Regions from separate parts of the Homo sapiens genome. Here all the other regions are linked to region 4. Evidence: promoter capture Hi-C in 16 types of primary human blood cells and fetal thymus (Javierre and others, 2016). All regions are on one chromosome and are shown on one strand. Each heading gives the region's core, a stretch centred on a gene start or on the middle of the fragment in contact. The rest is flanking DNA. Distances are from core to core; before and after follow the strand shown.

Region 1 (5,599 bases), core at 1,629-4,128, 350 kb before region 4:
GCACTCCAGCCTGGGCGATAGAGCGAGACCTTGTCTTGAAGCAAAAACAAAACCAAAAACCAGATTATATCAATACTGTACTCAAAATCCTTGATGTCCCTCTATCTCTTCCAGAACTAAATCCTAAATCCTGTAAGACTCTCTGCGAATTGGCTCTGTGCTATCCCTCTGACCTTATCCTCACACCACTCCAGCCTCATTGTCATTCCTTGAAGATTGCAGACATGCTCCCCACTTACAAACTTGCACTGGCCGTTCCCTCTGCTGGAATGCTCTTCCCAGATATTTTCATGACTCACTTCTTCACGTCCTGTAAGGTTTTTTATTTTTTTTAGTTGAGACGGAGTCTTGCACTGTTGCCCAGTCTGGAGTGCCGTGGTGTGATCTCGGCTCACTGCAACCTCCGCCTCCCGGGTTCAAGCGATTCTCCTGCCTCAGCCTCCCAAGTAGCTGGGATTACAGGCACCCATCACCACACCCAGCTAATTTTTTGTATTTTTAGTAGAGACGGGGTTTCACCATGTTGGCCAGGCTGGTCTCGAACCCCTGACCTCATGATTTGCCCACCTTGGCCTCCCAAAGTGCTGGCATTACAGGCATGAGCCACCGTGCCCAGCCCACGTCCTGTAAGTCTTTACTTAAGTATGTCCTATAAAGAGGCTGACCCTGACCATCCTTTCTGAAACTGCAACCTACCCCCACCCTCGAATCCCTCTCTCCCTGCTCTATGTTTTTCCCCATAGCACTGATGGCTTGGTAAGATATTACATAATTTTTATTTAGTATGCTTATTGCTTGGTTTGTTTGTTTGTTTGTTTTTGTTTTGAGACAGGACTTCACTCTGTCACCTAAGCTGGAGTGCAGTGCCACAATTGTGGCTCACTGCAGCCTATGCCTCCTGGGCTTAAGCGATTCTCCCACCTCAACCTCCTGAGTAGCTGGGACCACAGGCCCACACCACCACACGCAGCTAATTTTTGTATTTTTGTTAGAGACTGGGTTTCACCAGTTGCCTAGGCTGGTCTTGAACTCCTGACCTCAAGTTATCTGCCCGCCTTGGCCTCCCAAAGTGCTAGGATTACAGGTGTGAGCCACCGCTCCCAGCTATGGTTAGTGTTTATTACCTGTCTCCTCCTCTACAATGAAAGCTCCATGTGGGCAGGGATATTTGCCTGTTGCGTTCACTGATGTAACTCTTTCTTTATAGCATAGTACCTGGTGAAATAGTATAGGTGCTCAGTGAATATTTGTTGAATATTTGGGTGTCCTCTAATTCAGTTCCGACACTGTCTACACAGAGACAGTGTCAGTTCACACAAGTTAAGGGCTCCGTCCCCAAGACTGCCACCCGTGCCCATCCACCCGTGCCTACCAGTCCGGGCCTCCAGAACTTCTGACTGATCAGCTTCAAGTTGAGCTTCCCACGACCCTCTCTTTGGATTCGATTAGTTTGCTGGAGCAGCTCACAGGACTCAGGGAAACACTTATGTTTACTGATTTATTATAAAGGATATTGCATAGGATACAGATGAAGAGAGTGAAGGGTGAGATTTGGGGGAAGAGGTGAGGCACTTCCATACCTTCCCCAGGGCGCCACCCTCCAGGAACCTCCCAGTGTTCAGCTATTTAGAAGCTCACCGACCCTGTCCTCTTGGGTTTTTCTGGAAGCTTCATGACATGAGCATTCCTTCCCCTAAGTAGGACCCTCTCGTGTAAGGGTCTTAAGACCCCAAATCAGAAAAGTAGGTGAACATTAGAATCCTGCCTTGGGGCAGGAGCAAGGAGGGCAGGAGAAGGCCAGAAAGAGGCCCACCTGAGGCCTGACACAAACATGATCGCAAAAGATTGGAACAAGGGCTGTGGGAGTTAGGAGCCAAGAACAGTGGGCGAAAACCGAAGTATATACAACACCACACCTCGACACGAAAAAGCCTTGCTGAGAGAAATTTCAAAAGACTGAAATAAATGGAGAGACATGCTATGTTCATGGGCCTTATGACTTGATATTAAGAAATTATTTCTTAACAAATTCATCTACAAATTAAACACAATCCCAAGGAAAATTCCAAAAGACTTTTGTAAAGGTTAATGAGATAATTCTAAACCTTATATAGAAATGGAAAGGACCTAAAATAACCAGAGTAATTAAAAAAAAAAAAAGTCAGCTGGGTGTAGTGGCTCACACCTGTAATCTCAGCTCTTTATTACTTCCTCTGCTTGAAGAACTTCCTTTATTATTTCTTGTAGTGAAGGTCTACTGCAAGTGAAATATGTCTGCTTCTATTTGTCTGGAAAGTCTTTTTTTTGGGATACCTAATAGTTGTACATATTTATAGAATACATATGACAATTTGATACATGTATACAATGGATAATGATCAAGTGAGGGTAATTAGGAACCTCAAACATTTATCATTTCCTTGTGTTGGGGACATTCCAAATCTTCTCTTTTAGCTATTTTGAAATATATAACAAATTCTTATTAACTGTAGTCACCCTACTGTGCTGTCGAACACTAGAACTGATTCCTTTTGTCTAATTGTATTTTTATACCCAGTAACCAAACTCTCTCTATCCACCCTTCCCTCTACCCTTCCCAGCCTCTGGTAACCAACATTCTACTCACTATATCCATCAAGTCTATTTTTTTAGCTCCCACATATGAATGAGAACATGTGATATTTGTCTTTCTGTGCCTGGATTATTTTACTTAACATAATGACATACAGTTCCATCCATGTTGCTGCAAATGACAGAATTTCATTGTTTTTATGGCTGAATAATATTTCATTGTGTGTATATACTGCATTTTCTTTATCCATTCATCTGTTGATGGACACTTAGGTTGATTCCATATCTCAGCTGTTGTGAATAGTGCTGTAATAAACATGAAAGTGCAGGTATTGGCTGGGCACAGTGGCTCACGCCTGTAATCCCAGCACTTTGGGAGGCCGAGGCGGGCGGATCACGAGGTCAGGAGATCGAGACCATCCTGGCTAACATGGTGAAACCCCATCTCTACTAAAAATATAAAAAATTAGCCGGGCCTGGTGGCGGGTGCCTGTAGTCCCAGCTACTCGGGAGGCTGAGGCAGGAGAATGGCGTGAACCCGGGAGGCGGAGCTTGCAGTAAGCCGAGATCGCGCCACTGCACTCCGGCCTGGGCGACCTAGCGAGACTCCGTCTCAAAAAAAAAAAAAAAAAAAAAAAAAAGAAAGTGCAGGTATCTCGTTGATATATTGATTTCCTTTCCTTTGGATAGCTACCCAATAGTGGGATTGCTGAATGATATGGTAGTTCTATTTTTAGTTTTTTTTTTTTTTTTTTGAAATGGAATCTTGCTCTGTCACCCAGGCTGGAGTGCAGTGGCTCAATCTCGGCTCACTGCAACCTCCACCTGCTGGGTTCAAACAATTCTCCTGTCTCAGCCTCCTGAGTAGCTGGGACTACAGGTGCATGCCACCATGACTGGCTAATTGCTAATTTTTTTTTTTTTTTTTGTATTTTTAGTAAAGGCAGGGTTTCACCATGCTGGCCAGGCTGGTCTTGAATTCTTGATCTCATGATCAACCCTCCTTGGCCTCCCAAAGTGCTGAGATTACAGGCGTGAGCCACCACACCCGGCCTATTTTTAGTTTTTTTAAGAAGCCTCCATACTGTTTTCCATAGTGTCTGTACTAACTTTCATTCCCACTAACAGTGTATGGGCATTCCCCTTCCTCTGCCTCCTTGCCAGCATCTGTTATTCTGTCATTTTGATAATAGCCATTTTTAATGGGTTGAGATGATATCTCATTGTGGTTGTGATTTGGATTTCCCTGATGATTAGTGCTGTTAAGGATTTTTTCATATACCTGTTAGCCATTCGTATGTCTTCTTTTGAAGACATAGAGATGCCTATTCAGGTATTTTGCCCATTTTTGAAACTGATAATTTGATTTTTTTTTTTTTTTTTTTTTGCTGTTAAGTTGTTTGAATACCTTTTATTTCTGGTTATTAGTCCCTTGTTGGATGGATAGCTTGCAAATATTCTCTCTCATTCTGTATGTTTTCTCTTCACTTTGTTGATTCTTTGTTCGTTTGCTGTGCAGAAGCTTTTTAGCTTGATGAAATCCCACTTGTCTACTTTTACTTTTGTTGCCAGTGCTTTTGAAGTCTTACTTAAAAAATATTTGCCCAGACCAATGTCCTGAAGGATTTCCCCAATGCTTTTTTTTTTTTTTTTTAATTTTTTTAGTATTTATTGATCATTCTTGGGTGTTTCTCAGAGAGGGGGATTTGGCAGGGTCATAGGACAATAGTGGAGGGAAGGTCAGCAGATAAACATGTGAACAAAGGTCTCTGGTTTTCCTAGGCAGAGGGCCCTGCCGCCTTCCGCAGTGTTTGTGTCCCTGGGAACTTGCGATTAGGGAGTGGTAATGACTCTTAACGAGTATGGTGCCTTCAAGCATCTGTTTAACAAAGCACATCTTGCACCGCCCTTAATCCATTTAACCCTTAGAGGACACAGCACATGTTTCAGAGAGCAGGGGGTTGGGGGTAAGGTTATAGATTAACAGCATCCCAAGGCAGAAGAATTTTTCTTAGTACAGAACAAAATGGAGTCTCCTATGTCTACTTCTTTCTACACAGACACAGTAACAATCTGATCTCTCTTTCTTTTCCCCACATTTCCCCCCTTTCTATTCGACAAAACCGCCATCGTCATCATGGCCCGCTCTCAATGAGCTGTTAGGTGCACCTCCCAGATGGGGTGGCGGCCGGGCAGAGGGGCTCCTCACTTCCCAGACGGGGCGGCTGGCCGGGGGGGGGCTGCCCCCCACCTCCCGGACGGGGCCAATGTTTTCTTCTAATAGTTTCATAGTTTCAGGTCTTTTATTTAAGCCTTTACTCTATTTCTATTTGATTTTTATATATGGTAAAATATATAAAGTTGTCTAGTTTCATTCTTCAGCATATGAATATTCAGTGTTCCCAGCACTATTTAATGAAGAGACTATTATTAATATTTCTCCAACGTATGCTTTTGGTGCCTTTGTCAAAAATGAGTTGGCTGTAAAGGCATGGATTTATTTCTGGGTTCTCTATTCTGTTCCACTGGTCTAAGTGTCTGTTTTTATGCCAGTACCACGCTGTTTTGGTTAACTTTGTAGTATATTTTGAAGTCAGCTAGTGTGATACTACCAACTGGTTTTTTTGCTCAGGATTTCTTTGGTTATTTGGGGTCTTTTGTGGTTCCTTATACTTTTTTTTTTTTTTTTTTAAAGATGGAGTTTCGCTCTTGTTGCCCAGGCTGGAGGGCAATGGTGTGATCTTGGGTCACCGCAACCTCCGCCTCCCGGGTTCAAGCGATTCTCCTGCTTCAACCTCCCGAGTAGCTAGGATTACAGGCATGCAACACCACACCCAGCTAATTTTGTATTTTTAGTAGAGATGGGGTTTCTCCATGTTGGTCAGCCTGGTCTTGAACTCCTGACCTCAGGTGATCCACCCACCTTCGTCTCCCAAAGTGCTGGGATTATGGGCATAAGCCACCATGCCTAGCCCCTTTACACATTTTAGTATTGTTTTCTCTTATATCTGTGAAAAATGTCATTGGA
Region 2 (5,513 bases), core at 1,729-4,228, 310 kb after region 4:
TGACCTCGTGATCCACCTGCCTTGGCCTCCCAAAGTGCTGGGATTACAGGCGTGAGCCAATGCACCTGGCTTTTTCTGTGAGTTTTATAGTTTTAGCTCTTATATTTAGGTTGTTGATCTATTTTTAGTAAATTTTTTAATATGGTGTGAAGCAGGGGTCCAACTTTATTCTTTTATGTTTGGAAATCCAATTGTCTCAGCATAATTTGTTGAAGAGACTATTCTTTCTCCATTGAATGGACTTGGGACCCTTGTCAAAAATCATTGGCCATAGATGCATGGGATTATTTTGGGATTCAAAATTCTATTCCTTTGTCCATACATTTATCTTTATGGAAGTACCACACTGTTTTGATTACTATACCTTTGCAGTAAGTTTTGAAATTGAAAACTCTGGGTCCTCCAACTTTGGCCTTCTTTCCAAGATGTTTTGGCCATTTGGGGCCTATTGCAATCTGTTTTAAATTTGAGAAGTGGCTTTTTATTTCTGGACAAAAAAGCAGTTGGAATTTTGATAGGATTACATTGAACCTATATATTGCTTTGGGTGGTATTGACGTCTTAACAATCCTATCCATGAATATAGTGTGTCTTTCCATTTATTTAGGTCTTCTTTAATTTCTTTCAGTAATGTTTTGTAGGTTTCCGTGTATAAATCTTTCATCTCCTTGGTTAAATTTAGTACTGGGTATTTTATTCTTCTAGTGCTGTTGTAAATGAAATTGCTTTCTTAATTTCCTTTTTGAATTGTTTGTTGCTGGTATATAAAAACACAGCTGATTTTTGTGTGTTGATCTTCTAACTTGAAATTTCGCTGAATTTATTAGCTGTAGTAGCTTTCGTGTGGATTCTTTGGGATTTTTGAGATATAAAATAATGAGATCTGATCTTTTAAATATATAAATAGTTTTACTTCTGCTTTTCCAGTTGGATGCCTTTTTCCCCTTTTTCTTGTCTAACTGCGCTGGCTAGAACTTACAGTAAAATACTGAATAGCAGTGCTGCAAGTGGGCATTCTTGTCTTTCTCCTGACCTCAGAGAGAAAGCTTTTAGTCTTTCACCATTGAATTTGATGTTGGTTGTGGGTTTTTCATAAATGCCTTTTATCATGTTGAGTATGTTCACTTTTATTCCTATTTTTCTGAGTGTTTTTATCATGAAAAGCTATTGGGTTTTGTCAAATGCCTTTTCTGCATTGATTAAGATGGTCGTGTGGTTTAATTTCCTTTATTCCATTAATTTGGCATATTACACTGATTGATTTTCTTATGTTTAGCTATCTTTGCACTTCGAGAATAAATCCCACTTGGTCATGCTGTATAATCCTTTTAAGATGCTGTCATGTTTGGTTTGCTAGCATTTTGTTGAGGATTTTTGCATTTATATTCATGAGGTATATTCATAAGTTTAGTAATTTTCTTTGTGATGTCCACATTTGGCTTTGATATCAGGATAAGAGTGGCTTCGTAAAATGTTAGGAAGTGACTTCATTCCTTTTTAATGGCTAAATAATATTTCATTATGTGTATATTTTTAAAATCCGTTTTTAAAAAATCCATTCAACAGCTAATCAACATTTGGGTTGCTTCTACTTTTTGACTATCAGAAATAATTCTCAATAAGCATTCATGTATAAATTTTTGTGTGGATATGTTTTCATTTCTCTTGGGTATTGACCTAGTAATGGAATTGTTTGGTCATATGATAACTTGATGTTTCACAGTTTGAGGAACCGGCAAACTGCTTGCCAAAGTAGTTGCACCATTTTACATTGCCACCAGCAGTGTATGAGAGTTCTGATTTCTCCACATCTTCACCAACACTTGTTATACGTCTTTTTATTATAGCCATCTTTGTGGATGTGAAACAATATCTCCTTGTGGTTTTGATTTGCATTTCCCTGATGGCCAGTAATGTTGAATATCTTGTCATGTGCTTATTGGCCATCTGTACATCTTCTTTGGAGAAAAGCCTATTCAGGTCCTTTGTCCAGTTTAAAATTTACTATTATTAATAGTAGTATTTAGCTGTGAGAGCTTTTTACATATTATTGATACAGAATATTATCTTTTATGGGCCCACACTTGCAACTCTCTTCCAAGGTCTGCCCTGGAGCTACCAGACTCTGCTTTGTGCCACATGATTCTGCAGAAAGCCTGAAGTGCCTTGGAGGTGTAAAATGTCCTCCAGAGTTCCCCCACGCAGTCAGGCAGAGGCAGGGACTTGGTCTGAAATTGCACCTTGGCTTCCCTCCCTTCCCTGTTCTGCTTGCCTTTCTGGTTTCTCTTGTGATCACCTCTTCAATGAATCACCTGTACCTGAATCCTCACCCCTAGGTCCACTTCTGGGGAACCTGACCCCAGAAAAAGCTTGGAATGGCTGAGGAAATGAAAACAAGTTAGTGCTTCTGGAACTCAGAAGACATGGAGATTGAGATGAGGCTGAAGTGGAGGGCAGAGGCTGACAACACAGGCTTTGTAGATCACAGAAAGGTTGGATTTTCTATCTGGAGAGCTATGAGGTGCTACTGTTCAGGGTTAAGCGGGGCTGACATTATATTACATTTTGAAATACCCCTCTAGTTTCTGGGTGGAGAACAGATGAAGGGGATCCAAGTGACTGCAGGAAGACCACTGCGGACCCTGTTATAGTTGTCTGGGGCTAGAGGATGGAGGCTGGGATGAGGGTGAGGACGATGGAGGGAGAGAGAAGTAGAAGATAACAGAGAGATCAGGAGAGTGGATTTAGGGGTTAAGGGGAGGTTTGAGGACAACTTGCAAGTTTCCAGCCTGGGTACCTGGATGGATGGTCAGTGCACAGAGAGGGAAGCAGGACTGGAAGGGCAGGTCAGAGATTCCACATGCAAAACACCACCAGTTTTCCTTCCTGGTCTGACCTAATCCCTCCATTTCACAGATGGGGAAAGGAGGTCCTAAGGAAGTACCTGACTACCCAGAGTTCCCCAGCATGCCCCAGGCAGAGGGCAATGGGACCCCCAGAGTCCTGCCGCCTATCCAGAGCACTTACCCTACAGGGGACTCTCTGGCTCTGGCCTCAGAGAGCTATTTTCAGCTGGGGTTTGAGACGAGGCAAATTTGTCCTGGGCTGGAGGCCAATTCACAGCCCCTGGAGAACAGGACATCTCTGCTTTATGAGGTCAGACTGTATTCTGACCCCAGCCAGCCACCCTGTCTGGGTCTAAAGTGGGTGTGACAGCCACCCTGTCTGTGTCACAAGGGTGTGAGGGGCCTACCTCAAAGTGGCTGACAAAACACACGCTCATCCACAATCCTGGGTTTGGCATTGATCCAGAACCAGGCCCAGACCCTGTGCTTTCCCCTTCTTGGCCCCTTTCCTGGCTGTGTGACCTTGGGCAAGTCATTGCCCCTCTCCAGGCTTTAGTCTTCCCATCTGTAAAATGGGGCCATCTCAGAGTATGACTTCTGTGACCCAAAGGGTTGTAGTAAATATCAGATGGGAAATAGATGGACAAAAAGTGCTTTGCGAACTGTAAAGTGCCTAGACTTCTATTGGGGCTCAGTCCTATGTCTGCCCCACATCACTGCCCAGCAGTGAAAAGTCTTTTCAAAGCTTTGTTCCTTCACAAGATGGCTACTCCTCTGGAAAGGAAGAAGTCTTGGTGTGGAACACAAGGATCCAGAGATCTTATTTTCCTGACCCAGCAGGCTTGGCAAATCCAGTGGACAGATGGAAAAACTGAGGAGCACCTATCTACTCAGAGGCACTAGGCTGTTAAGCCTGGATTCAAAAGCAGGGCTCTCCAAGATGAGAAAGATCCTCATCCATCCAACGCCTCCATTGGAAAGATGGGGTAAACTGAGCACCAGAGAGAGGAAGCAACCTGCCTCGGGTGACCAGGCCATCAGCAACAGGGCAGAGTGGCACCTGAAGTGCCTGACTTCCAGGCTGTGCTTCTCTTTCTGTCTCTTGCCTACCAGCCCCTTGAGCTTGAAAAAAGTGTTCCCATCACAGTGGGATGTTGACAGTCACATCACTGGCTGACTTGGGGTTCCTTGAAAGCCCATCTTCTTCCACCACAGCAGGCTTCAAACTTTGTTTAAAAATCCCATGGAGGGGCACTGTGGCCTCTGCCTCCTCAGAGCAGTCTCTCAGGGGCTGAGGCTTTGCTGATTCAAAGCTATGTCATCACTCGCAGGGAATCTCTGGGGGAGGCCATGCCATGCCATGCCCCTACTGTGGGCATATTTGGGCAAAGTCAATAAACTAGGCCCAGATCAAGTCCAGCTCTGCCCCTCACTGTGGCACTGGGCAAGGTACCTCCAAATCTCTCTGAGTTTCAGCTTTGTCCTCAGTAAAATAGGGTGGAATCAGTCCTCATAATGTTGTAAAAAAAATTCAACAAGCCCTGTAAAGCTTTTAGAGGATTTAGCTCAAAGCTAGGCACAAAGAAAATGCAAAAGAAATGTTAGCTGTTATTATTCGATATTTTTATACATTGTTACTCATTATGACATTTCATTTCTGCATTCCCTTCTTCCCCAGGGGATGCAGTGAGGGGAGAGATTGTTGGGGTACAGTTCTTTCTGGGGACAGAGGGATGCACAAGGTAACCTTGGGGACTCCTCCCGCCCAAGTATTCTTAGATTACCTGTGCCCGCTTTGCCCCCCTTCCTTCTAGCAGTAGCTGTGGTCTCTCACAAGTCAGTTTCCATCCCAGCACCCCAGTTTCTGTGGCTCCCTGCCTGTGGTACCCACTGGCTGGATGCTGTTGCTATGGCAACAGCATTTTAAAAGCCGTCGGCCCTCTCTGAGGCAACAGGCATGGATGGAGATGGGCTGATCAACGCCTCTTGCATCTTTGGGCCTGTCTGGATGGAAGGCAGGGAGGGGAATGCAAGAATCAAACCTGGCTTTGGGTGGAGGACTCAGGCCCCAGCCCCGGGTGTTCCCCAAATGCACCCCCACTTTGCTGAGTCACACAGGAAGAGCACTTGGCTACAAACGCAGATTCCAGCCACCTGCCAGCACCAAGAGTCTATTTTAATGTCTGGGGTAGGATTCCCTAGGAAGCCTTTTGACCGGCTCTGCTCATGGCTCTGAGGCAGGCAGGCCCTAGACCACACCTGGGGAAGTCTTCAGTCTTGGAAGATTCCTGAAGCCATTTTAGGTATCAAGTGTGTGACTCTTGGCTGAGACAGCTCCTGAGAAGCCCTAGTTGTCCTCCTGTGCCTGGCCCAGGCCTGCCTCTCTCCCCTTCACAGCCTCATTGTGGGGGACCTGTGCCCCACAGCCTCTTTCTGGAGCCAGGAAAATTCAGAGCTAGGTGACCAAGAGGCCACTTCAGTAATGCATCCTACTGCAGAGGTAAGGCAAACACTTTCAGCTTAATGACACTCCAGAGAGGCGCTGGCAGGGGCCACTCTGGCCAGTATGAAGGGTGGGGCTTCTGGATGCTCCATCTAAGATCCGACAGATAGGCCCCTTCCCACGGTCCCCAACCACCAGGACCCAGCTGCCCACAGAACCCCAAT
Region 3 (5,826 bases), core at 2,357-4,856, 320 kb before region 4:
CTCTCAGTTCTTCCTAAGCTCCAGCATCTCCCAGTGGCTCCTATTTCCCCATGTTCACACCTTGGCAGAGGCTGTTCCCTTTGCCCAAACCATTTGCCACATTGTCCTTTAGGCAAACTCCTAGACACTCTCTGCAAATTGTGAGGACACCAGCTAGCCCTCTGCACCAGGTATTGCACTTCACACTTTATATGCCTTATTCACTTGGCACTCACAGCCCCTCTAAGAGAAATTCCCATTTGCAGATCTCCTGAAGTCAGCAGAGGCTCAGAGAAGTCAAGCAACTTGCCCTGGGTCACACAGTAGGATGGCAGGGCAGGCAGTGCAACTCCAGAGTCTATGCTCCTAACCTCAGAGCCTCAGAACCAGCTCAGAGCCCACCTCCTCAGAGCTCTCCCAGCCACACAAACGCCAGCCTCCTCCATCCCACCTCACTCCTGCTCTCAGCAGAGAGACCTCCCTCCTCATCTGGGGCTCCCATGGACCCAGGACGTTTTTGGTGATTACATTTCCACACTGCCTTTATTCCCTCATGTCTGGCTCTGTCATGAGATGCTGAGGCTGGTCAAGGACTGTGGCTGTGGGTTCCCAGTTCCCAGCATAAGGCTAGGCAAAAAGGGTAAATGTAACTAAGATTGGTCTCATCAGGAGCCCCGCAGAGATGACAGAAGGAGCAAATGAAGTAAGAGCTGTAAACAGGCTGGGTGCAGGGGCTCATGCCTGTAATCCCATCACTTTGGAAGGTCGAAGTGGGAGGATCACTGAGCCCAGGAGACCAGCTTGGGCAACATAGTGAGACCCACTCCCTCAACAAAAAATAAAAACTTAACCGGGTGTGGTGGCATGTTCCTATAGTCCCAGCTACTTGGGAGGCTGGGGTGGGAGGGTCGCTTGAGCCCAGGAGGTCGAGGCTGTGGTGAGCTGAGATCGTGCCACTGCTCTCAGCCTGGGCGAGACCCTGTCTCAAACAAGCAACAAACAAAAAACCAAGCTGTAAACAGACCTTGTGTGGCTTTTGTGTCCAGGAGGTGGGGAGGTGTTATTATATGCAGAGGTGACAGGCTGCACAGCAATGATCTGCAGTGTCTACACCATCTTTCCTCCACAAAGTCAAGATGGGGCATCATCTCCTAAAGGGTCTCTGAAAGCACACCACCATTAGCTGGTTCAGTATCACTCCATTTCCCCCTGCCCCCTAACCCCCAGCCTTGGGGAGACTGGGGGAGAAGGAGGGTGCTTCTGGGGAGGAGGGGTCTCTGATTGAAGTCATATATCACAGTGGCAGCTGAGGCAGAGAGATGGGAGCGATTTTTCTTCATGGTTTGCAGACAAATGTGGTGGACAGAAAATTGATGGCAACCTTTGGCAGCGAGAGACCTGGGGCCTAGGGAGTGGCCATGCCTGCCCGGGCAATGGGGATCACAGGCAACCACTCCCCGCGGACCCCCGGCTCCCACCTGAATCTATTGTCCTGGGCAGAGGCAAGGGGGCAGCCCAGACTTGGGGAAGACGCATTGAGGGGGCGTGGGAGGAGGGTATGTGTGAGGTGGCCTGGGTTAGTGCTGACTGTGTGACCAGGGCAAAGTCAGGCCCTCTGTAGGCCTCAGTTTCCCCGCTGGTACAGTGAGTTGTCAAGGCCAGCAGAATCTTGGGGAGGGATGTAGGTGGGCTTTTTCCCATATCTCTTATCTTTAGCTGTCTCGTAGGGTCTGGGAGAGTCAGGAAAATGGACGTAACTCTGGCAGAAGTCTCAGGAGCCCCAAAGCTACACATTTCCTGCTTCCAAATTATCCTTGAACCTAGAGGTTTGGGGAGCTTAGAATCTTAGAACCTGGAAAGCTTGTTTTCCTAGAAACCCAGATTCCTCAGCTCTGAATGCATTCAGTGTAACTCTCCACCCACACCCCAGGTGTGCAAGAAATGTAGCTTCCTTTGTTTTTAAATAATGCATCGAACTTGCATTTCAAGCTCCGTTCTGCCAGGATGGAAGAAACCCAGGCGGACCGGGCTTCCCTCTTTCATGGGGCTGGATGATACTTGGGGGACTGCCACAGGTCATGGGAGAGGAGAGGTGACTCCTCAGTTGTCTGCCTATCAAGACATGATGCCCCTTCTGACCCTCAGTGGCTGGTCACCATGGCATGCAACTGTCCACAAGGCTGCTCTGGTCTTTTGAGTCTTTCTGATGCTCCCACACCATGCTGGGCACAGGGGTCTCTGCTGGGCCATATCAGACCTGTGGACCCAGACTGGGGCTCAGCCTGGAGTAGGGCACAGGCCACCGTTGCTCTCAAGTCTTCTAGATGTGGCTGTGGATTCTGACATCACCCTCAGGCCTGGAGATGGGGTAGGACTCCTTTCTCAGAGGCCTGCAGGTTCAAGGGCTCCGGGTTTCCCTTCGACTCCTTTCCTGAAACCCAGCTGAGGGGACTGCACTGGGGATCCTAGGGGTGACTGGGAGCTGGGTCACATCTGTTAGAGAAAAAATTATTCCCACCTGGTCAACGTGGCAAAACCCTGTCTCTACTAAAAATTAGCTGGGTGTGGTGGCACATGCCTGTAATCCCAGCTACTTGGGAGGCTGAGGCTGGAGAATCACTTGAACCTGGCAGGCAGAGGTTGCAGTGAGCCGAGATTGTGCCACTGCATTGCAGCCTGGGAGACAGAGCTATCTAAACAAACAAACAAAAAACAAAACAAAACAACAAGAAAAACAGAAACATTTATTCAACGACACTTGTTGAAGAGTGGTAAGGTGGACTTTTTATTCAGGACCATGGCAACAGGGACCATTGCAACGGGAATTTGCGGTGGGGGAGAAAGAACGGGCTCAACTCCAAATACAGCATGGGCAAGTGGGATTTATGGCTAAGGAGCAGTGCAGGGGTCCAAGGATGGAAAATGACTGAGAGGAAGCATCAGGGGTGAGGGAGAATCTGACTCAACTGATCTAACAGGATTCTTGCTGAAGACAGGCCAGGGGGATCAGGCATAATCTGGGCCGTGGTGGAGGGTGAACAGCCTGATTAGATATGAAGGATGATCAGATATTGAGGATAGGGGGTTCTTGCTAAACTGACTTAGGGTTCTTGCTAAAACTGGATTTTGTAAGAAAGTATGCAGATGGGCTTAGCAGAGTTTCGGGAGCCTGACTAAAGTTTGGTCAAGTGAAGAATCTCTGCTACTCTCTAGAGTTACTCTCAAAAAAATAAAAATAAAAATAAATAAAAATAAACATGATGGGTAGAGAGGCTACACACCCTGTTCCCTGAGAGCATTTGCTTTTTTTTTTTTTTTTTTTTTGAGATGGAGTCTTGCTCTGTCACGCAGGCTGGAGTGCAGTGGTGCAATCTTGGCTCACCGCAACCTCTGCCTCCTGGGTTCAAGCAATTCTGTCATCTCAGCCTCCCGAATAGCTGGGATTACAGGTGCGTGCCACCACATCTGGCTAATTTTTTTTTTTTTTGTATTTTTAGTAGAGATGGAGTTTCACCATGTTGACCAGGCTGGTCTTGAATTCCTGACCTCAAGCGATCTGCCTGCCTTGGCCTCCCAAAGTGCTGAGATTACAGGCGTGAGCCACCACTCCCGGCCAAGCATTTTCTTTTCAGGGGTTGGGAGGAGAAAGAGAAAGGAATTGGGTTGGTGAGTGGTATATACAGGGGTATTCAATTGTATCTGTAACATTTTATTTATATATTTTTATTAGTTATAAATTATATATAAATATACATATACATGTGTTTCTGTATGTAAGTTGTTTATAAGTTTTTAAAAGAGAAGCATGGCCTCTGTATCCTTCCGAAGCTGACTTCTCTCCCTTCCTATTACTTTGCTACGATTCACATTTGTTGTTGCTTGTGGCTGTTGTTCATTCATTTTGACTGCTGGATAGCATTCCATTGTGTAAGGATATCGGAGGATGCAAGTCCCCAAGACCTCCCCGACACTGCTGGTGGAGTGCAAATTGATGCAACCACATTGGAAAACAATTTGGCAGTATCTCATGGAGGTGAATATTCAGCAATTCCACTCCCAGGTAAATACCCAAGAGAAACTCTTGCACACACACAGCAGCAGACATGACAAGAATGCTTATAACAGTTCTGTCCACAATAACAAAAACCTGGAAACAACCCAAATGCTCATCAACCCGAGAAGGAATAAATACGCTTGTTTGCTGACAAAATACATTTTAAAAAATAAATAAAAGGTAAGAACTGAAGCAAGTCAGGCATAATTCTAATATAAGTTAAAACTGGATCATGGGCACATTGGTCTTTATTAATTTATTCTTTGAATGTCTGAAGTAATTCATAACAAAAAGAAATCATGTTTTGAAAAATCTTGAATTGTAGCATCTTGGACTTAGAAGGCCTGTGATCTTTGGTGTCAGAAGGGGTTAGGGATTAGCTAGTCATGTCTGTGACATCCGGGAGCTTACCCAGCGAGCTTCCAGCCTTTGCCTGTGTACTCTCTGCAGTGGAGTGACCCAGAGTGCATGATAAGATTAACTCCAGGGGTGGGGTAGGTCAAGATACAAACATTACTCTCATCTGCAGATATTGTTCATAAGGAAGGGAAATGACCTAGAATGACACAGAAAGGGCTGATAACAAATCAGGGTGACCAAGGATGACACCTCCCCCCCGCCAACTCCACGAGGGGCTGACAAAACTGTGCCCTATCCTAGAGATAGGCTTCCGGAATGACCAGGATGGGTCAGCATAGCTAGAAAAGGGGGTCCCAGAGCAGAATGTGGTGCATGGGTCTGCCTGATAGAGGGAAGCTGGTGGGCCCAGGCCATCAGGCCAGAAAACTGCATCTTCCTCATCCCCTCCCCTCCAGAATCTTGTCCTATTCACCAAGTCCCCTTATGTTTTATAATTCAGTCCCCCAGCCCTTCTGGGACGTCTGTACTACATTTCTCTTTAACTTGAACAGCATGCTGCCGGATGCATGCATGCCCGAACACATGGACCCTGTATTTACATATGCACATGCCTAGACCGGTGTGCACATGGGGTCCTGAGGAGTTAGTAGCTGTGGACATGCGTGTAGCTCCCCCTGGACCAAGTCCATGCCACACCATCACTGCTGCCAGATGACTCCCCAGCCTCTTCTTGGCTTCTCTGCCTTCCATCTCATCCCCTCCAAGCTCCCCATTGCAACCAGGGGTTGGGGAGACTCCTGAAATCCAGAGCTGACCCTGCCACTCCACAGCATGGATGAATGAATGTGTGTTACAGGCACATTTCTATGCTTATGCATGTGGGCTCCTGGATCCTGTGTGTGCACATGGAGATGTGTATGTACCCTATTTCATTTTTAGATTTATTTTATTTTTTGATTTGGTAATACCTGGACATGATAAAAGCTTCACACAATTAAAAAAGATACATAAGAAAAATCCATGTCCCAGTGGCTTTTTGAATGGTGGAGGAAGGACTTCCAAAAATCTGCTCCTTCATAAAAGCAATGAAAATACTGGAGAAACTCTCCAATATAGTTTTTTGAAACACTGGAAATTAAAAGCTTACATTAATCTGAGGAGTGTTGATTTTAAAATAGCTGAATCTTGGTAAGACCATGAGCTTTATGATGTTTTGTTTTCATTTTTCTAAGACAGGGTGTTGCTCTGTCACCCAGGCTAGAGTGCAGTGGCATGATCATGGCACGGCAGCCATAACCTCTTGGGCTCAAGCAATCCTCCCACCTCCCAGTCTCCTGAGTAGCTGGCACCACAGGCATCCACCTCCATGATGTTTTAACCTGCCTTAATCCCATTTCTCTCTCCCTATCTCTGTGATATTTTTGAAAACAGTG
Region 4 (5,883 bases), core at 2,880-5,379:
TCAAGGGGAGGGTATGGAGACTCTCCAGGGAGCTTGGCTCAGCAGTAAGGGGCAGTGCAAGATCCCATGCTTAGAGGGAAGTTTAAAAATATCATCTTTCCCAATTGAAATACTTGACGTGATGCTCACCTCTGAGCCTCATTTATATAATGGAAATAGCAGTGATATTTGCCTCATGGCATCCACACGACCACTAGAGGCATGTTAGTTGCCTCCAGGGATGGGAGGCTTTCCATCTCCTGCAGCATTCCCAGAATGAAATGAGTGACAGGCGTCACCCACTCTAGTGAATTCCTAGAGACTGTTTCCTGGGCTAGTCTTTGCTTACCTTCTGCCTCCACTAGGCTCTCGGCTTCCACGGTGCCCAGAGATTACACTTGCATTGGGAAGCAGACAAGAGGCACAATTACACAGGGGAGGAGGATGGGCTGGGATGTGTCCGTTCACATTCAGCCTCTGCCCTACCTCACTGTGCAACTTTGTGCAGGTTACATCATCTTTCTGAGCTTTGTTTCTCCATCTGTAAAAGAAGGAAGGGTATAATAGCAGCCTCAGGGGTTGTTGTATGAATTATAGGAGATCATGGGTGTGAATGTGATTTGTAAACTGTAAAGTGTAGTTTAGGTGCTGCAGGAAATACAAGTGGGACAGTACAGTATAGTGGGAGGTCTCTGAGTTGGGAGACAAAGGACCTGGATCCAGTTCTGTCATGAGTGGCTGTGTGGCTCTGAGAAAGTGAATTACTTTCTCTGGGTCTTAGTTTCTTAAGGTGCCAAGAGGGTAGGTTGGAATCAAACATATGAAATGTTTGATTGGCTCTGGAATCAAACACATCATGGCCTTGCTATGTCGCTTTAGGCAAAATACCTAACCTTTCTGAACCTATGTCCTCATCTGTAGATATCAAGAACACTAGTCAACATGTATCATGTATTTGCCATGTGCCTGGCATTGTTCTAAGTGCTTTCCATGTAACAACTCATTTAATCCCCACCACCCTGCTGTGAAGGAGGTATTATTACCCTTGTTTTACAGACGAGAAAATTGAGGCACAGGGAGGCTAAGCAACTTGTCTAAGTTTACACAGCTACCAAATGGCAGGATTCAAAACAGAGAATATGGCTCTAGAGCCCACACTTCTAACCACACCATCCTACCCTACCTGGCCTGGTGGTTCTGAGGATTAAGGGGAATAATGAAAGTTCTTAGGGCCATGCTGGGCATACAGTGATGAGCCAACAGAGGCTTGGGGACTGGGAGAAGGCAGCAGGCATTTCTTCCCATGGGGACTCAGGCTGGACCTCGCCCAACTGGGGACTCAGCTAGACAGAGGGGAAGGCATACAAGCACAGGGGAAGCACTGGGAAGGTTGAAGATGTAATGAGGCCAAGGCATGCCCAAGAGAGCACAGGATATGTGCAGGAGGTGAGTCTGGGACCCTGAATGCAAACTAGAGAAGTCAGGATTTCTCACATAAACAGGCCATCAGAGGGTTTTTTTAGCAGAACCATTATATCATGAGCATTTTCTTCTTTTTTCCTTTTTTTTTTGAGATGAAGTCTCACTCTGTCACCCAGGCTGGAGTACAATGGTGTGATCTTGGCTCACTGAAAACTCCGCCTCCCAGGTTCAAGCGATTCTCCTGCCTCAGCCTCCTGAGTAGCTGGGATTACAGGTGCCCACCACCACTCCTGGCTAATTTTTGTATTTTTAGTAGAGATGGGATTTCACCATGTTGGTCAGGCTGGTCTCGAACTCCTGACCTCGTGATATGCCCACCTCGGCCTCTCAAAGTGCTGGCATTACAGGCGTGAGCCACCACACCTGGCCGATCACGAGCATTTTCAAAGGCATACAATCCCTGGATGTCTGTCCTTGAAGGAACCTTGACCTTGTTCCAGGCTTCAAAGAGAAAAGATTTCTGAAGGTCAGCCGGTGGGCTAGGGGCACAGCAGCAATGTGCTGCCATCCCGCCAGACCCCCTTCCTCTGCAGGCCTGAGCAATCTCTTGTTTACTCCTCTTTAATCTCCTCTCCCTCCCTGTCCCCTTGCCTGTGTCTGCTCCCTCCAATCTGTGGTTTAAGAGGAGAAAGCCCGGGTTTGAGTCCCAGTTCTGTCACCACAGTCTCCTGGTGAGGCCTCAGGCTGGGGTTGAAGGAGTCCTGGGTTTTAGTCTGGCTAACATGGTGGCTGCTATGTGATCTGGAGGATTCTCAGTTTCCATATCTTTATGATGGAAGCAGTAGTTCATTTCGCTGGGAGCGGGGTTCAGGGTAGTTAATGAATGAGAAAACACGTGCATAGAGTCCAAGACGCCTGGCCAGCCCAGGATAACCTAAACACCACCTCTGTGTGGGAAGAAAGTGAGAAGTGAGAGAATCAGGCAAACACGGCCCCTTCCTCCAAGGCATGTGGTCCAGAAGGTTCGGGGGGTGGGGGAAGCGGTCGACGCTTGGGACCTGTCCTCGGTACTGAAGGGAGCGCGGGGGCTGTGGACGGTGCTAGAACACAGTGCTTGTAAGTGCGGGACATCGTGGAGGAGGTGTCCTTAGTTTGGAAGGAGCTGGATTGTTGCTGGCTACCACGGGCCCCATCCGGTGTGCTACCCCCCCCCCATAATACTGGAAGGGGGGCGCTAAGACAGAGGGAAGACGGCGAGGGGCTATGTTCCTTGGTCTCTAACCTTGTTCTCAAACTTGGGCGCTGTACACACGGCTGGACGCGGGATCCACCTGTGTTCTGGAGTGGGGAGTGGGCTGTCGGAGGGGTTGACCCTGTTCGACGGGGACGGGGAAGAAAGTCTGAGGGTCTGTCCACGGTGTGAACCCTAGCATCAAAGGGCCAGTTGAGACGCTGTCCACGGTGCCCAAAGGATGGGCCCGGGTGGGGCGGGGGGCGGGGGGCGGGGGGGGGGCTGGCGCTGTCCTCCTCCGTGGTGCTGAAACCGGGAGGACCAGGCTGTGTGAGCAGGGAGGCCTGGGGAAGGGCAAGGGATGAGAGCAGGAGGGACCCCGCCCAGGAGTCAGGGGCCTCGCCCGACTCGCCGTGGGACCTCAGAGAAGCTAATTACCTGATTTCAGGCGCTTCCTTATCTTTTAAATGGGACCACAGTTCCGCCCTCCTGTCTGTCCCATCAGCCCCAGTAACACGGCTTGGGAAGGAACTGGAGGACTTTGTTGGATTCTTGCTCTTGGGAATGGGAATGGTGCCCTATCCCCCTCCCCTGCCACACTCACACACACATACACCCACGCATACGCGCGCGCACACGCACACGCACACACACACTCATGCACACACACACCATCAAGGCTCATTGGTCTAGGGAAGGAGCCTACAGTCCAGAAGGGGGCGATCCCATCCACCACATAAGGTCCAGTATCTTCAAGAGCCAGGAGCCGCAACAACTAACTGGCCTGTCTCTCTCCCATTACAAAGACTCGAAAACTGAGTCCCAGAAAGGGGAACACCGACAATAATAACTACTGAGCTCCTACCACGTAGGCAGCATTATGCTAAGCGCTTTGCATGCACGATTTCGCAAATCCTCACCAGGACCCCCGCAGACAGCTATTACCCCTATTTCTCAGATGAAGACTTCGAGGTTCAGAGAGGGGTAGACACCCGGACGCGATCACACAGCGAGCCGAGGTCGGCGGCAGAGCTATCACCAGGTCCCCTGGGTCTCAGCCCAGGCTCCCACCCTACCTCGCCCTCACCCCCAGCCCCACTGGCCCCTGACCCCGGCCCCGCCCTGCCGGTAAAGTTAGGAGCCTCTGAGTGCGCTGGCCTGGCGGCGGGTGCCCTGGCTTTTCTCCCTCTCCCCGCTGGACGGCATTTCTGTGGCTGAAGCCCGTTGGGTCGTGCTTTGCGGGAACCGCGTCCCTGGGGTGGCTCTCTCCGCCCCATCCCGGCCCCGCCTCCGCACTCGGGCGGGGGAAAGTTGCGGGTACCGCTTTAAAAATCCCAGCCTGGGCAAAACTTTGATGATAAATCAAGCGGCAGATCCCTCCGCCGCCTGCTCCGAGCGGGAGGAGGGAGGGGAGGAGGGAGGGGAGGAGGGAGGCGGGAGGAGGGAGGAGGGTGCGGCGGCGGCGCGGCGTGGCCTTCCGCGGAAGGGAAGAGTCCCGCAGTCGGAGGCGGCCGGCTGGGCGTGCGCTCGCTCCCCGAAGCCGGGGCTGGGCCGGAGCCGGGCGAGGGCTGGGAGCTGGGCCGGGTCCGGGGACAGCGGGCGAGGGGCAGCTGCCGGAGCCGGGCAGCCAGGCCGCTCAGGGCAGGGGACAGCTGGCGCCGGTTCTGCGGTCTCCGGGGCCCAGATGTGAGGCGGCGGCGCCCCCGGCCCGAGAGCGCACGATGGGGGCCCCGCTCGCCGTAGCGCTGGGCGCCCTCCACTACCTGGCACTTTTCCTGCAACTCGGCGGCGCCACGCGGCCCGCCGGCCACGCGCCCTGGGACAACCACGTCTCCGGCCACGGTGAGTTCGGTCGCCGCCCCCGCGGACTTCCCCACCAAACCCCAACCCGGGCCGCGCCACTCCAACTTGGCCGCCCCGGGGCTCGAACCGGCGCCAGTCGTGGCGGGCATCCCGGGGCGCCCCCTGCCGGCGCGGTGGACCCGCCCTGGCACCCTGGCCCTGCAGAGAAGGGGGCACCCGGGGCGCACCCCCGAACCTCCTCCCCACACACTCGCGCGGATACGCACACCTGCATGGCCACACCGATATGCACAGCCGCGGACACACTCAGAGCCACAGTCGCTGCTTTCTCACACTCACAACTCCTACCCTGCACATCTCCACACACCTCAGGTCCCCCTCCTCACTGCAAGCCTTTACACTTATGCCCACTACACACGCACATCAGGCACTGCGCCGGTGGGCTCACTCTGCCAGCTGGCGCACACGCTTCGCCACAACTCTTGCCTGCCCACCTGCAGACACACTGGTGCGCGCGCGCGCACACACACACAGGCACACACATACACACACATGAACACAATTTGCTCACCCACTCCTCTCTGCCCATCTGCCTTTACTCTTCTGGGTTTAACCGCACAGAGGCCCTTGTCCTCTTCCTCTCCACACCCAGCCCTATACCACTGGAAAGGTCCTTGGGGGCAGAAGACCTTGTTTCTTGAGAACTGGTCGCCTGGGGCTGCAGCCTCCCAGTTGGGCGGGTGGCACCTGGTGGAAGCCCCTCAGAGCCACCGGAGTAGTTGGGGTTGCTGCTTGCAGCCAGAGGCATGGGAGTGGGAGTGGAAGTGGAATGCCGGGTGCTTTTGTCTGCCTCTGGGGATGGGCAGGAAGCCGTGCCATCCTTCCATAGGGTACCCCCATCCTCATCCTCGGCCCTAGAGGACTGAAATGTGGGAAATCTCAACTCCAGCCGCTGTGGAAGCCGGGGAGCAGACAAGCATTCCCAGCACTGGCTGGCTGAGTGTCAGAAGCTCCTGCTAGCCCCGAAGGAGCCCAAGTTGGCAGCAGAGTTGGACTGTATGAGCCCGGCAGCTGTGGGGGCTCCCCCTGACCCCTGTGAGCCTGGCTCTGGGATGGAGGCTCGAGCATAGATGAAACCAAAGGAGACCTTTCTTCCATGCAGCCCTTCACTAGACAGGCTGACAGCCTTGTTGGGGAGGCTGCAGCCCCAGTGCTGGGCACTGTGGGCCCAGGGCTGTGGGGAGGTTTGCACAAAGGCCAGATAATTGGATGATTTATTCTGATGGGAGTGAGTGGGGGTAAGGCAGGGTAGATAATCAGGGAAGGTTTTGCTGGGGTATGACACATGAGTGGGATTGCTCCAGTGGAGAGGGGGGCTTCGAAGCCATCCTCAGGGTCTCTGCTTTTTGGGAACCATGACTCCCCGCCCCCTTCTGCCTCACCATGTT

Evidence for each region. The method cuts DNA at HindIII sites, captures the fragments that hold promoters and counts their contacts. A CHiCAGO score of 5 or more calls a contact.
Region 1: a contact is called between a fragment that was not itself captured here and the fragment with the promoter of VSTM2L in region 4, in 1 of 17 cell types (endothelial precursors). The highest score is 5.5, in endothelial precursors.
Region 2: a contact is called between a fragment that was not itself captured here and the fragment with the promoter of VSTM2L in region 4, in 1 of 17 cell types (endothelial precursors). The highest score is 5.3, in endothelial precursors.
Region 3: a fragment that was not itself captured here is called in contact with the fragment with the promoter of VSTM2L in region 4 in 8 of 17 cell types (endothelial precursors, M1 macrophages, M0 macrophages and 5 more); the score reaches 14.3 in endothelial precursors.

The regions. Positions count from the first base shown.
Region 1 is chr20:37,545,918-37,551,516 of GRCh38, forward strand. No RefSeq gene overlaps it. Among named protein-coding and RNA genes, the nearest start is that of BLCAP, 21 kb to the left of the region's middle. The HindIII fragment of the contact is 2,425 bases long and covers 1,667-4,091 here.
Region 2 is chr20:38,206,056-38,211,568 of GRCh38, forward strand. KIAA1755 reads right to left here. Exons shown (of 14, transcript NM_001029864.2): 14 at 4,448-5,513. Among named protein-coding and RNA genes, the nearest start is that of TGM2, 44 kb to the left of the region's middle. The HindIII fragment of the contact is 1,222 bases long and covers 2,368-3,589 here.
Region 3 is chr20:37,579,972-37,585,797 of GRCh38, forward strand. LINC01746 (long intergenic non-protein coding RNA 1746) reads left to right here. Exons shown (of 4, transcript NR_184035.1): 3 at 3,896-4,039. Among named protein-coding and RNA genes, the nearest start is that of LINC01746, 12 kb to the left of the region's middle. The HindIII fragment of the contact is 3,538 bases long and covers 1,838-5,375 here.
Region 4 is chr20:37,898,998-37,904,880 of GRCh38, forward strand. It overlaps VSTM2L (V-set and transmembrane domain containing 2 like), which reads left to right and starts at 4,130. Exons shown (of 4, transcript NM_080607.3): 1 at 4,130-4,474. The coding sequence starts at 4,354. It overlaps LOC124904896 (a long non-coding RNA gene), which reads right to left. Exons shown (of 3, transcript XR_007067576.1): 3 at 1-520. RefSeq lists an enhancer at 3,430-4,393. The HindIII fragment of the contact is 14,867 bases long and covers 1-5,883 here.